2 separate regions of the Homo sapiens genome follow, and region 2 is linked to region 1. Evidence: promoter capture Hi-C in human tissues and cell types (Jung and others, 2019). All regions are on one chromosome and are shown on one strand. Each heading gives the region's core, a stretch centred on a gene start or on the middle of the fragment in contact. The rest is flanking DNA. Distances are from core to core; before and after follow the strand shown.

Evidence for each region. The method cuts DNA at HindIII sites, captures the fragments that hold promoters and counts their contacts. A contact is called where the count stands out against the background at its distance.
Region 2: a fragment that was not itself captured here is called in contact with the fragment with the promoter of NPRL2 in region 1 in 1 of the 25 tissues and cell types used here (pancreas).

Annotation. Positions count from the first base shown.
Region 1 is chr3:50,346,661-50,353,477 of GRCh38, forward strand. NPRL2 (NPR2 like, GATOR1 complex subunit) reads right to left here and starts at 4,115. Exons shown (of 11, transcript NM_006545.5): 1 at 3,915-4,115; 2 at 3,271-3,362; 3 at 3,005-3,173; 4 at 2,726-2,834; 5 at 2,214-2,350; 6 at 2,025-2,122; 7 at 1,867-1,903; 8 at 1,657-1,750; 9 at 1,464-1,581; 10 at 1,099-1,241; 11 at 670-1,013. The coding sequence starts at 3,992. The coding sequence ends at 946. It overlaps CYB561D2 (cytochrome b561 family member D2), which reads left to right and starts at 4,202. Exons shown (of 4, transcript NM_001291284.2): 1 at 4,202-4,324; 2 at 4,749-4,900; 3 at 5,349-5,386; 4 at 6,581-6,817. The coding sequence starts at 4,774. It overlaps LOC127898564 (CYB561D2-LOC101928965), which reads left to right and starts at 4,202. Exons shown (of 5, transcript NR_183066.1): 1 at 4,202-4,324; 2 at 4,749-4,900. RefSeq lists an enhancer at 4,157-4,376. The HindIII fragment of the contact is 1,502 bases long and covers 3,694-5,195 here.
Region 2 is chr3:49,146,959-49,153,775 of GRCh38, forward strand. It overlaps the pseudogene LAMB2P1. Among named protein-coding and RNA genes, the nearest start is that of CCDC71, 16 kb to the right of the region's middle. The HindIII fragment of the contact is 6,447 bases long and covers 1-5,814 here.

The DNA.
Region 1 (6,817 bases), core at 2,865-5,364:
TCTTTCCTCTCCTCCTTGCTTCCCTGAACCTCCCTCATACATTCCAAAGAGGTTTTTGCCTCAGAGTTTTGCACTTTGCCTGGAATACTTTTCCTTCAGGGCTCAGTTTACACCTCAGCATGGCCTTTCTTGGCCATTTAATCCAGAGCAGTCCCTGCCTCCAACCCAACTCACTCTTGATCACATCTTTTTTTGAAATTGAGTCTCCTGTCACCTAGGCTGGAGTGCAGTGGCATGATCTTGGCTCACTGCAACCTCTGCCTCCCAGGTTCAAGTGATTCTCCTGCCTCAGCTTCCTGAGTAGCTGGGATTACAGGTGTGCACCACCACACCTGGCTAATTTTTTGTATTTTTTTTTAGTGGAGATGGGGTTTCACTATGTTGGCCAGGCTGTTTTTGAACATCTGACCTCAGGTGATCTGCCCGCTTCAGCCTCCCAAAGTGCTGGGATTATAGGCATGAGCCACCGCGCCTGGCTACATCTGCTTCTTTCTAGGTTTATTTATTATTATTATTATTATTGAGATGGGGTCTTGCTCTGTCACCCAGGCTGGGGTGCAGTGATGGGATCACAGCTAAATGTAGCCTCCAACTCGTGGCCTCAAATGATCCCCCCACTTCAGCCTCCTGAGTAGCTGGGGCTACAGGTGAGTCACCGCATCAGGACGATTTTTTTTTTTTTTTTTTTTTTTTTTTGTAATTAACCGGCACTTTTATTTGTCGATTGTCGGTCCTGCCCACCAGATGGCGATCTAGCCCACGGCTCGTGGCTATTTCATTCACTGCTGGGTCTCCCACGGCTGGCCCAGAAACAGCACTCAATAAAGGCTGTTTGAAATGGATGTCTTTATTTACAGAACTAAGAGTCAACCTCTAGACAGTATGACAAGCCTCCTAGTAGGAGGGACTACCCACAGCAATGTGTCCATCCAGTCACTACCAGCCTCACTTCCAGCAGATGATGATGTTGGGGTCATTTTCAAGCCGCTCATCCAGCTCATGGTAGCTCATGCCTGGGTGGGGTGGTGGAGGAGAGGTCAGTGGCCTTGGCCTGGCCACCCTGCCCTGAACCCACCCTGACTGCCCGCCTGCCTCCACCTGTCTTGCAGCAGATCTCGTCATAGCTGTGGCAGCCTGTATAAAGCCGGGCAGGGTGGCTCTGCTCTTCCCGAGTCACCCGCACAGGATACTTCTGTAGTCGCCTGATGAGGTTCTTCATAAGCCCGAACTGGATCAGCTTCCTAGGGTGAGGATCAGAGGACGGGGTGACGCCCTGGCCAGGCCTTCTTTCAGGCAGGCCAACCCTTTCCTGTAGTCTCCCTTCAATTTTGTCTCTGTAGCCCATCATCTCCAGGAAGCCTGCTTGGATTGGCAGTGCCCCATGATCCAGGGCTCCTGAGAGACATAAAGGGTCTAGCTTCCCTCAGGTAACTCCCAAATGCCCCAGCAAATTCTCCTCTGACCGTTCATCAACATGCTGCAGCTGCTGGGGGTGGCGGCCAATGAGGTCTCGCACGGTAGTGCCAGGGCTCAGGCTGCAGTATAGCTGGAACACATCCCGGAGACTGGCCCTCTTGTGCCCTGTGGGTGCCAGGGATCAGCTCATCATGTGGCCCTGCCCTCCCCAAGATGGCTTCCCCCAGAACCCACCACTACCTTGCTTGGTCACGTAGGATAGACATGCCTCTTGCAGGGACTTGTCATCTACCAGGTCCTGGACCTTGGGCGTTGGGCAGTATACATTGGAGTACTAGAGGGTAGCAGAAGGCATAGGGGCCTGAGTGAGGGGCTTGGGAAGCTGACACAGCCCTGGTCTGGTCCAGCCACATGATCCACTCTCCACTTAACCAAACCCAACTCACCTACCTGGAGGATGGACACCAGTGTCACAACGCCGTAGTACCTGAGAGAGAGAGCTGTGCTCAGCTTCTGAGGACCATGCCTTCCCAACCCTCACACCCAGGGCCCCTGAGGTCTTCCCTGGCTGGTGACCTTGTCCCAGGTATGACTGTAGGCCCACTCACAGCAGGTTCTGGATAGCAATGCGCACCAGGTTGAGCTCCACATCTGCCTCTGCTGAAATCTTCTGGATGTGGCGGAACCCATCAATGTAGGGCAGGATCTGGGCAGAGTGGGACAAGGTCAGAAGAAACAGGATGAGGCCAGGGCTGTGGCCAGCCCCAGGTGATGATACCCAGGGAGGGATGGCATACTTGTTGTGTAGTGAGGTCCCACTGTGAGTTGAAGAAATCCTCCTTGTCTTTGGTAAAGACAGGTACATCATACTCCTGGGCCACCGGAGGGTCTGGCCGCTGCTCAATCACCTTCAAGTGGATGGTGTTGGACTCATCTGCAGGGGGCCCCATCCATATCCTCAGTGCCACTTCTTCCAAGAGGTCCTCAATTACCATCCAGGCCTCCCAGCATCCCTTGGGGCAAGCAGGTGCCTCTGGGTAGGGCTAATCTTTCTCTTTTTATGGAGTGAGAAACGGAGGCCCACAAAGGGGAAGGAATTGCCCAAGGGGCAGAGCTGGAGAGCTCTGCTTTCCCCCTACCCCCAGTCCCAGCTCCATCATGCATTGGACCCTGGACATGGGCACCTCAGCCCATGGCTATTTCCTGCCCACCAATGTGTTCATGAGTCTTGCCCTTCTCCCTGACTAGCTGGGTTCACTTTCCCATCTCTCCTCTACCCCTCTGCTGTCCTTGCAGAGGCTGGCCATACCAATGGGCAGAGTGCACCGGCCTGAGGCATTTAGCTCCTCCAGCAAGATGGTCATGATGGGCACCAACTTCTGCTTGCTCTCCTCCATGGACACGAAGCTGCTCTCTAGCTAGACAGAGCATGGAAAGCATGGTGGGCACATCCCAGGACCCCTGGCTGGTTGGCTGCCCTGAGTCCTGAGCTGGTTTGCAGGGTCCCAGGTTTGGGGGACTTTGGAGACATGGGAACACCTTCCCCAACTCTGCCTGTCGGTAAACCCAAGCCCATCTCATTGCAGACCTCTAGTGTGGTCAGATAGCCAGCCAGCTTTTTAACAATGGGCTCGAGGGCGCAGGTCTTGGCCTGGGCATCACACACGAAGCCCAGGTTGAAGAGGAGAGCATTGCGGCTGTACTTCTTGTGTTCGATGCACACAGGACAGCCGATCAGCTTCTTTTCCATAGCTGTGCTGGATAATTGGAACACAGTCAGGCCCCCAAGCCTGTCCCTTCCTCCTCCTGGGACAACCCCTGCCACCCACCGCTCACCCCGAGCTAGGGTCTCACACAGTGATAAGCTTGTTCTGCAGCTCTGGCTTGGTGATGATGTACACTTGGACTGTGTCAAACAGCTCTCGGGAGATGAAGTCTTCAGGGACCTGGGGAGGGGAGTGGCAATGGGCCCCTCAGTGGACATCTGTACTGGGTGTAGTACAAATGGTGACCTCCTCATGCCCCCCAAGCCCAAGTCCTCTTCTCCAGCGTTCCCCTCTCTCCCATCCACTCAGGCCTATTACTTCTTTCTGTTTCCAAACATACGCTATGATCTCACCTCCTTCCTGGCTTCTGCATATGCTGTTCCCTCTACCTGGAACACTTTCTCCTGCCTTACCTAAACTTCCTATGCATCATTTACTCTTCACTCAGTTCAGGGATACTCATGGGTCACCCAACTCACCTTCTGTGGGACCTGGAACCCCCCAACCGGATCCCTACAGCCCGATATCCTACAAACACTGCCAATGTGACGTATGTCTTCCCTGCCACATTGGGAGCCGGGGGCCTGGGTCTGACTATCCTCTAGCCTCACAGTTGTCTGCGAATGAAGCAGCATGCCTGCGTGCAGCACGGGAAACTACTGCCTTCAGGCAGCCAGTTGAGCTCTCGAGAACGTCCCTCTTCCCGCCCAGTCCCGCGAGCCCGGGTGGCACCTGATAGGTGATCTTGGGTCCCAGCGTGGGGTGGAACTCGCTGAAGAATATGCATTCGATGCGGCAGCCGCTGCCCATGGCAATAACCGGGCCCAGGCCCGTAGCTCCTCGTTCCTCGCGCAGAGGCGTCCCCACCTCCTGTGAACACTTGTCAGAGACAGCCTCGAGGCCTGTGTCGCTGGGGCACGCAAGCTTGCCAATCCCTCTGCCCAATGGCGCCTGCGCAGCGCGACTCAGAGGCGTGGCTGGGGCGGGGGACGGCTCGTCCCAGGAAGTCCTGGGTGGGTAGACGTCGCACCCGGAAGTAAAGCGGCTCCGTGACGGAGCGGCGGTGCGCGCGGCAGGGCCCGGAGTATCCCGCTTTCTTTGGAGGAAACCACCGCATCAGATCTGCGCTGCGGCAGAGGCAGGCAAGTCCCTAGCGTGGAGGGGCAGCATGCTGGCAGCACTTGGGGAGGCGGTGCGCTAAGGGATTCACGCTGTAACTGGGACCGCAGCAGGGAACTACAATTTCCATAGTGCTCCGCGCCCTCCCAGCTGGCTCTACTGCCGGCGACGGCGTGGTACACGCTGGGATTTGTAGTCTTACATGGCTTTGCGCCTCCTACCTGGAAGGCGGGCCAGCGATTGGTACCAGTTCAGACATGGGTACACGTTGACAGGCCGCCGGCCGTCGACTGGCATGTTGTGACCATTCCTGGTGCTGGTCTTGGTACTGTTCTTTCCTACCATAACTTATTGGAAGAGGGTGGCATTCCTGCCTTGCAGCCTTTTCTCCAGTGAGGAGTGAACAGTGGGCACCTGAGATCCTGGCCCACGCTACTATGCTTTCAGGCTACAACCACTAGCACGGCTGACGATGGCCCTTTCTGCGGAGACCGAGTCACACATCTACCGAGCTCTGCGTACTGCTTCTGGCGCTGCCGCCCACCTTGTGGCCCTGGGCTTTACCATCTTTGTGGCTGTGCTTGCCAGGCCTGGCTCCAGTAAGTAGAATTCATAGCTGACTTCTGGGAAGGGAAGGGCCACTGTTCCTGGGGAGGAAGGGCAGTGGGACTTCCGGGAACAGGCCTGGCTGGTTGAGGGAATTCTGTGCTGGAGCGATGAGTGAGGTGGAGCAGGTAGGTATGGCCAGGGCACACAGAATTCCTGGTTTGTCTTTCCTTCTCTGGGTGCTCCATTTGGCTGCCTCTCAGGAGGTGTAAGGGAAGGAGGGAGGACTGCCAGAGGAGTGGCAAAGCATGGCCTCTGATCCAGGAAGAGGCCAGGAAGAGAGGATAGGTGTGGGGTCAGCTTGTTGCAGAGCAAGAAGGGGCTCACAGTTTGGCAGCACCTCCTTGGGTGATGGGCTGCTGGTATTCCTCAACCCTTAAGGATTGGTATGGCTGGTTTCTTCTTGCCTCAGCCCCATGAGGCCTCCTCTTCTCATTCCAGGCCTGTTCTCCTGGCACCCGGTGCTTATGTCTTTGGCTGTAAGTAGTGGGCCTGGGCAGTTCTTAGGGGTGGGAGCATGGGCATGGTTGGTGGCCCTGGCAGCCTCTGAATCTTTGTCCACATTTAATATCTGTTTGGAAGAGTTGCATGCTCCAACTACTCCTGCCCATGGTATATATTTCAGACTTGAGGCTGGGCACGGTGGCTCATGCCTGTAATCCCAGCACTTAGAGGCCGAGGCGGGCACATCACCTGAGGTCAGGAGATCGAGACCATCTTGGCCAACATGGTGAAACCCCGTCTCTACTAAAAATACAAAAAATTAGCCGGGCATGGTGGCACGCGCCTGTAGTCCCAGCTACTCGGGAGGCTGAGGCAGGAGAATCGCATGAACCCAGGAGACGGAGGTTGCAGTGAGCCAAGATTGCGCCACTGCACTCTAACCTCTAACCTAGGCGACAGAGCGAGGCTCTGTCCCAAAAAAAAAAAAAAACCCAAAAACAAAAAAACCCCCCAAAAAACCAAAAATTAGCTGGGTGTGGTGGCAGGTGCCTGTAATCCCAGTTACTCAGGAGCCTGAGGCAGGAGAATTGCTTGAACCCGGAAGGCGGAGATTGCAGTGAGCCGAGATCAGGCCACTGCACTCCAGCCTGGGTGACAGAGAGAGACTATCTCCAAAAAAAAAAAAAAAAAAAAAAAGAGACTTGAATCAGAGTAATGAAGACCCAGGACCCAGGTCAAATGGGTAAGATTTGTCTAAGCACAATGAGGCTTCACCCACCTCTAGGCAGAAAGCTGAGACATTGCATTTGGATGTACCTCTGTCCCTTTTTACTTTAATTTCTGGTGATGCACCTAACTTTCCCTGAAACAGTGCACCCATGTGGCCAGCTCTTGCCAAGAAATTGTATCCAGCCCCACGTTAGGGAAACAAAGCTTGTGAATCATTTATAACTGCCACATCTCAAACCCTGTGTTTGCTTGGTAACATACGACAGATGACATTTCAGACTGGCACCTAGGAGGAAGTGTGGAGATTATTCAGGGCACATATATCATCCCAGATGGGGTTTTCCACTCTTGCCCCACCAAATGGATAGTCTTGTCAGTGGGGAGAGAAAGAAAAAGGGGAATCAGCCCAGACTCACTGGCAGCTAAGGGTTACATAAAGCCCTCTTCTCCTCTTCTGGGGCAGCACCCTCACTTGAGCTTCCCATCCCCTGTTTCCTCAGTTCTCCTTCCTGATGACCGAGGCACTACTGGTGTTTTCTCCTGAGAGTTCGCTGCTGCACTCCCTCTCACGGAAAGGCCGAGCACGCTGCCACTGGGTGCTGCAGCTGCTGGCCCTGCTGTGTGCACTGCTGGGCCTCGGCCTTGTCATCCTCCACAAAGAGCAGCTTGGCAAAGCCCACCTGGTTACGCGGCATGGGCAGGCAGGGCTGCTGGCTGTGCTGTGGGCAGGGCTGCAG
Region 2 (6,817 bases), core at 1,341-3,840, 1.2 Mb before region 1:
TAAAATAAAATAAAATAAAAAAATAAAATTGGCCAGGCACAGTGGCTCATGCCTGTAATCCCAGCACTTTTGGAGGCCGAGGTGGGCGGACCATGAGATCAGGAGATGGAGATCATCCTGGCTAACACAGTCAAACCCCGTCTCTACTAAAAATACAAAAAAATTAGCCAAGCATGGTGGCGGGCGCCTGTAGTCCCAGCTACTACTCAGGAGGCTGAGGCAGGAGAATGGCATGAACCCAGGAAGCGGAGCTTGCAGTGAGCCAAGATTGCGCCACTGCACTCCAGCCTGGGCAACAGAGTGAGACTCCATCTCAAAAAAATTAAAATAAATAAAATAAAATTTATGTCTCTGAGCCAGGCGCAGTGGCTCACACCTATAATCCCAGCACTTTGGGAGGCCAAGGTGGTCAGATCACCTGAGGTCAGGAGTTCGTGACCAGCCTGGCCAATATGGTGAAACCCCAACTCTACTAAAAATACAAAAATTAGCCGGGTAGCCAGGTGCGGTGGCTCAAGCCTGTAATCCCAGCATTTTGGGAGGCCGAGTTGGGCGGATCACAAGGTCAGGAGATTGAGACCATCCTGGCTAACATGGTGAAACCCCACCTCTACTAAAAAAAAAAAAAAAAAAAAAATTAGCCAGGTATGGTAGCATGCGCCTGTAGTCCCAGCTACTCAGGAGGCTGAGGCAGGAGAATCGCTAGAACCTGGGAGGCAGAGGTTGCAGTGAGCAGAGATCACATCACTGCACTCCAGCCTGGGCAACAAGAGAGAAACTCCATCTCAAAAAATAAATAAATATATAAAAAAATTTTAAAAAGGCCAGGCGCAGTGGCTCACACCTGTAATCCTAGCACTTTGGGAAGCCGAGGCGGGCGGATCACGAGGTCAGGAGATCGAGACCATCCCGGCTAACACAGTGAAACCCCGTCTCTACTAAAAATACAAAAAATTAGCCAGGCATGGTGGCGGGCGCCTGTAGTCCCAGCCACTCGGGAAGCTGAGGCAGGAGAATGGCGTGAACCCAGGAGGCGGAGCTTGCAGTGAGCCGAGACAGCGCCACTGCACTCAGGCCTGGGCAAAAGAGTAAGACTCCGTCTCAAAAAAAAAAAAAAAAAAAAATTAGCCGGGTGTGGCAGTGGGCACCTGTAATCCCAGCTACTCAGGAAGCTGAGGCAGAACTGCTTGAACCTGGGAGGCGGAGGTTGCAGTGAGCTAAGATTGCTCCATTGCACTCCAGCCTGGGTGACAAGAACGAGACTCCCTCTCAAAAAAAAAAAAAAAAAATTATGTCTCTGCCAGATGTAGGGTGCAGCCCCTAGGACATCACTGAATGCAGATGGATGAAGCTTCCCTCAGTCCTCCACACTCCCTCTTGGTCTGCCATAGCCTGTGTCGTGGAGTAGCAGCATGTTCCTGGATCAAAGCAGAAAGTCTGTATAGAACCACAACCCTGCAGTGAATGGGGAGAGGAGAAGAGGTGAGGTGATGCTGCAATGATCATGTGGTCCCAGAGATGCCTCCATGCTTCCTTCCTTCCTTCCTTCTTTCCTTCCTTCCTTCCTTCGTTCCTTCCTTCCTTCCTCCCTCCCTCCGTCCTTTCTTTCTTTCCTTTTTCTTCTTCTTTTTTTTTGATGGAGGCTCGCTCTGTCGTCCAGTCTGGAGTGCAGTGGCGCGATCTCGGCTCAGTCCCACCTCAGCCTCCCGAGTAGCTGGGAGTACAGGTGTGTGCCACCACGCCAGGCTAATTTTTGTATTTTTAGTAGAAATGGGGTTTCGGCCGGGTGCGGTGGTTCATGCCTGTAATCCCAGCACTTTGGGAGGCTGAGGCGGGACAATCACAATGTCAAGAGATCGAGACCATCCTGGCCAACATAGTGAAACCCCGTCTCTACTAAAAATACAAAAATTAGCTGGGCATGGTGGTACGCGCCTGTAGTCCCACCTACTTGGTAGGCTGAGGCAGGAGAATCGCTTGAACCCAGGAAGTGGAGGTTGCAATGAGCCGAGATCGTGCCACTGCACTCCAGCCTGGTGACAAAGTGAGACTCCGTCTCAAAGTCTCAAAAAAAAAAAAAAAAAAAGCCACGCGCTGTGGCTCACACCTGTAATCCCAGCACTTTGGGAGGCTGAGGCGGGCAGATCACCTGATGATGAGAGTTGGAGACCAACCTGACCAACAGGGAGAAACCCCATCTCTACTAAAAATACAAAATTAGCTGGGTGTGGTGGCACGTACCTGTAATCCCAGCTACTCAGGAGGCTAACGCAGGAGAACTGCTTGAACCCGGGAGGCGGAGGTTGCGGTGAGCTGAGATCCCACCATTGCACTCCAGCCTGGGCAACAAGAGAGAAACTCTATCTCAAAAAAAAAAAAAAAAAAAAAAGCAGGGCGCGGTGGCTCACGCCTGTAATCCCAGCACTTTGGGAGGTCGAGGCAGGCGGATCATGAGGTCAGGAGATCGAGACCATCCTGGCCAACATGGTGAAACCCCGTCTCTACTAAAAATACAAAAAATTAGCCGGGCGTGGTGGCGGGCACCTGTAATCCCAGCTACTGGGGAGGCTGAGGCAGGAGAATTGCTTGAACCCAGGATGCGGAGGTTGCAGTGAGCCAAGATCGTGCCATTGCACTCCAGCCTGGGCAAAAAGAGCGAAACTCTGTCTCAAAGAGAAAAAAAAAAAAGAAACAGGGTTTCACCATGTTGGCCAGGCTGGTATGGAACTTCTGACCTCAGGTGATCCGCCCACCTTGTCCTCCCAAAGTGCTGAGATTACAGGCATGAGCCACTGTGCCCAGCTGGGATGCCTCATTTCTATTGTGCACTTAGTGAGCCCAACATTTCATCATGAATGGAAAAAGACCAACTTCTTAAATCCTGCTTTATTGTTAAACTAAGTACCTGTTTTGCTTGTTTTACGACATGATGATATGCCATACTGACGGTTTGGTGTGTTTCAAATGTGTGGGCAGCATAATGGGGTCCTGGTATTGGGAGTGACAGGGTTGGGGGTCACAGGGTCTTGCCTAGCTGTGTGCACGAAGCAGGGCCACCTGAAACAGCTGCTCTGAGGGCAGCAGATGGGCACAGTGGGTGCTGCTGGGCAGGAATTGGGCACAGACACTGACTAATGCCTGACAGTCTTCAGGTTCCTGGGGTTAGGGGTCAGCAGTCACAGAGCCACTCCTATCCATCCCTACCACCACCCATCCACACTCCTGACATCCACACCACTGACCTAGGTTTCATAGAGCAGGACAATGTCATACTACAGGGCATGAGGCACCAATGGGCACCAGGAGAGAAGGGCAACCCTCACTGACCACATGGGCAAAGTCAAGCCAGTCCAAAATACAGGACCAGCTGCCCATGCAGGGGAAAGGGCTTTTCTGGGGCCTGCATGTGAGACACAGACTTCCCATTCCAGGACCTACGACCCTCAGGGCTTAGACTCCCATTCCCTCAAGAACCCAAGGATCTGTATTCCCAGGCCCTTATCCCTCTTAAGATCCTAGTGACCTGTGACTTCATCTTGTTCCCCAGACTCCTCACTTTGGGCAGCTGGTGCCTGTAATGGTCTTGCCAGACAGGGTGGAGGGCACATCAAGGGTCATGCTATCATCCAGGTGTGGTGGCTCATGCCTGTAATCCCAGCACTTTGGAAAGCCAAGGCGGGCAGATCACCTGAGGTCAGGAGTTCGAGACCAGCCTGGCCAACAAGGTGAAACCCCGTATCTACTAAAAATACAAAAACTAGTCACGTGTGGTGGCAGGCACCTGTAATCCCAGTGATTTGGGAGGCTGAGGCAGGAAAATAGCTTGAACCCAGGAGGCACAGGTTGCAATGAGCCAAGATCATGCCATTGCACTCCAGCCTGGACGACAAGAGTGAAATTCCATCTCAAAACAAACAAACAAACAAACAAAACAAAACAAAAAACAGCGTGATGCTATCTCTGAAGTCGGGGCTGAAGCCAGTCAGAGGCAGTCCCTGGGGCTTCTGTACAGTGGAAAGGAGCAGGCCAGGGGGCTCCCTCGAAGGAAGTGGGAGTCCTAGTCCTTTCCCATACTGTCCTGGGAATAATATGGCCTCTGTCCAAGACACTGAACTTTTGACCATGCTGACACCCATACCTGGATTTCCAAGTCTTTCCAACCCTGCTCAGACTCTTCCTCCAAATAGTTATCTGGACGTTCACTTCTTCCAGTGAGCCCCAGTGTCTGAGCTTTGATTTCTTTCTGCTTCTGACCCTCCTGATACTTATACTTGCTGGAGAACCTGGCCAAGTTTGGCTTCAGCTGTGGCCAAGGGCAGCACAGAAATACCCAGATTAGACCAGGCGCCATGTGGCACGCCTATAATCCCAGCACTTTGAGAGGCCAAGGTGGGCGGATCACCTGAGGTCAGGAGTTCGAGACCAGCCTAGCCAATATGGTGAAACTTCGTCTCTACTAAAAATACAAAAATTCGCCAGGTGTGGTGGTGCATGCTTGTAATCTCAGCTACTCGGGAGACTGAGGCAGGAGAATCGCTTGAACCCGGGAGGCGGAGGTTGCAGTGAGCTGAGTTTGTGTCATTGCATGCCACCCTGCCTGGGCGACACAGCAAGACGCTGTCTCAAATTAAAAAAAAAGAAAAAAAAAGAAAAAGAAATACCCAGATTAGTGCTCATGGCAGTGGCAGCCACAGAGGTGGGGGTGGGATATGCAGAGACTCACCACTGCAGAATACCTGAGGGAGCACAGAGGTGAGGAGGGGTCAGGGTGAAGTCTTGATTCTTGCCATTTGACCATGAATTCCAGGCCCCGCCCTGTACCTGTTACTGTAGCATCTGCAAAGTTAAAGTCACAGGGCCAGCAGCCTGGGTGGGGGCGGGGTCACTGCCCAGACCCTAGAACTCAGGCTGTAGGAGACTGTAGTTGGGTTGGGGAAGGCAAGAAGATCTGGACAGGAAGAGGAGGGGAGGGGCCTGATAAGTCTTATATTGGGTCTGCCTATGGTGGGAAAAGGGGTGAGAAAGGGCCTGAATGTTCCTCTGACTGCATCTGAAAGTGAGAGAGAAGATCATGGTGCACTCCTGAGTAACTTCACAGAGAGACATAAGAAGGAGATGAGGACACAACCAGGGTTAAATAAAAGTTAAGCCAAGAGGCCGGGCACAGTGGCGCACGCCTGTAATCCTAGCGTTTTGGGAGGTTAAGGTGGGTGGATCACGAGGTCAGGAGTTCGAGACCAGCCTGGCCAAGATGGTGAAACCCCGTCTCTACTTAAAAAAAAAAAAAAATTAGCCGGGCGTGGTTGCGGTTGCCTGTAATCCCAGCTACTCGAGAGGCTGAGGCAGGAGAATCACTTGAACCCAGGAGGCAGAGGTTGCAGTGAGCTGAGATTGCGCCACTGCACTCCAGCCTGGGTGACAGAGTGAGACTCCATCTCAAAAAAAAAAAAAAAGTTAAGCAAAGAGTTTGTAACATTCGAGGCAAAGAGAGGATGGAGTTATTCCTTGGACTAAGTCTTCCTCTAAACAAGTTTGCTGGAAAAAAAACAAAACAAAACAAAACAAAACAAAAAAACACCTTTGGCCGGGTGTGGTGGCTCACACGAGTAATCCCAGCACTTTGGGAGACCAAGGCGGGCAGATCATTTGAGGTCAGGAGTTGGAGACCAGCGTGGCTGACATGGTAAAACTTCGCCTCTACTAAAAATACAAAAATTAGCCAGGTGTGGTGGTGTGTGCCTGTAATTCCAGCTACACAGGAGGCTAAGGCATGAGAATCGCTTGAACTCGGGAGGTGGAGGTTGCAGCGAGCCGAGGTTGCACCACTGCACTCCAGCCTGGGTGACAGAGCAAGACAAGACTCTGTCTCAAAAACAAAAACAAAGACAAAAGCCTTTAAATCCAGTGTATAATACAAGTTTAATCAATTTCCCTTTTGTTTCCGAAACTCCCACCTGAGGGCATATACAGGTTCAGCTAGCCAAAGTGATGCTGACCCTGGTGACCAAGTCAGTGAGCGGCACCCACCCAAGTACAAGGCTCAGTCCACAGTCATGATAACTATAGCCTTATACTCATTATAAGGCTATAGCTCCAAGAAGCTCAGTGCCAAAGGTCAAGGTTAAATCAGAAGGTGGGCCAAGCCTCACCAGACAATGGCTACCGTCCTGCCCAGAGACAAAGCATTTGCAGTGACAGGTACCACTGGAGGGATAACAGACATGAGTACCAGGGACCTGAACCCTGGGGTCACACCTGCAGGCGAAGGCTTAGGGCTCTTAGCTTGCTAATGGAACTGCAGTGAGGTGGGTAGGTGCGTGTGTTATCAGGGCAGTAACTGGGGGCAGAGCCAGGAGGACATGGAGGCGGGGGCCCACCCTGAGTGTCACTCACACTGGCAGCTCTGAGGTTGGGTGGAGCTCAGGCCATAGTGACCAGGCCAGTAGGAGTCACAGTGCTGACCCCATACACACACTTTGCAGCAACACTGCCCAGAGAGGAGGCCATGGATCTCATTAATGTGAGCATCACACAAATCCCCTTCCAGACACCCACAGGGTCACAGTCACAGGCTAGATCAGAGGTCAGAGGTTAAGGATGGAATTAGGTCAGAGGTCACCATGGAGCTGAAGGATAAGAGTCAGTGTTGGGATTAGGGGTTGAAGGACTCATGTCTGCAGGACCGAGGGGAACAGGGATCCTCTCAGGGATGACAGTAGAAGAAGGGCCAGCAGAACTCACAGTGGCGCCCAGCTGTGTTGTGCTGACACACATCACACACACCTCCACTCACATAACCAGACACACAGCTGTGTCA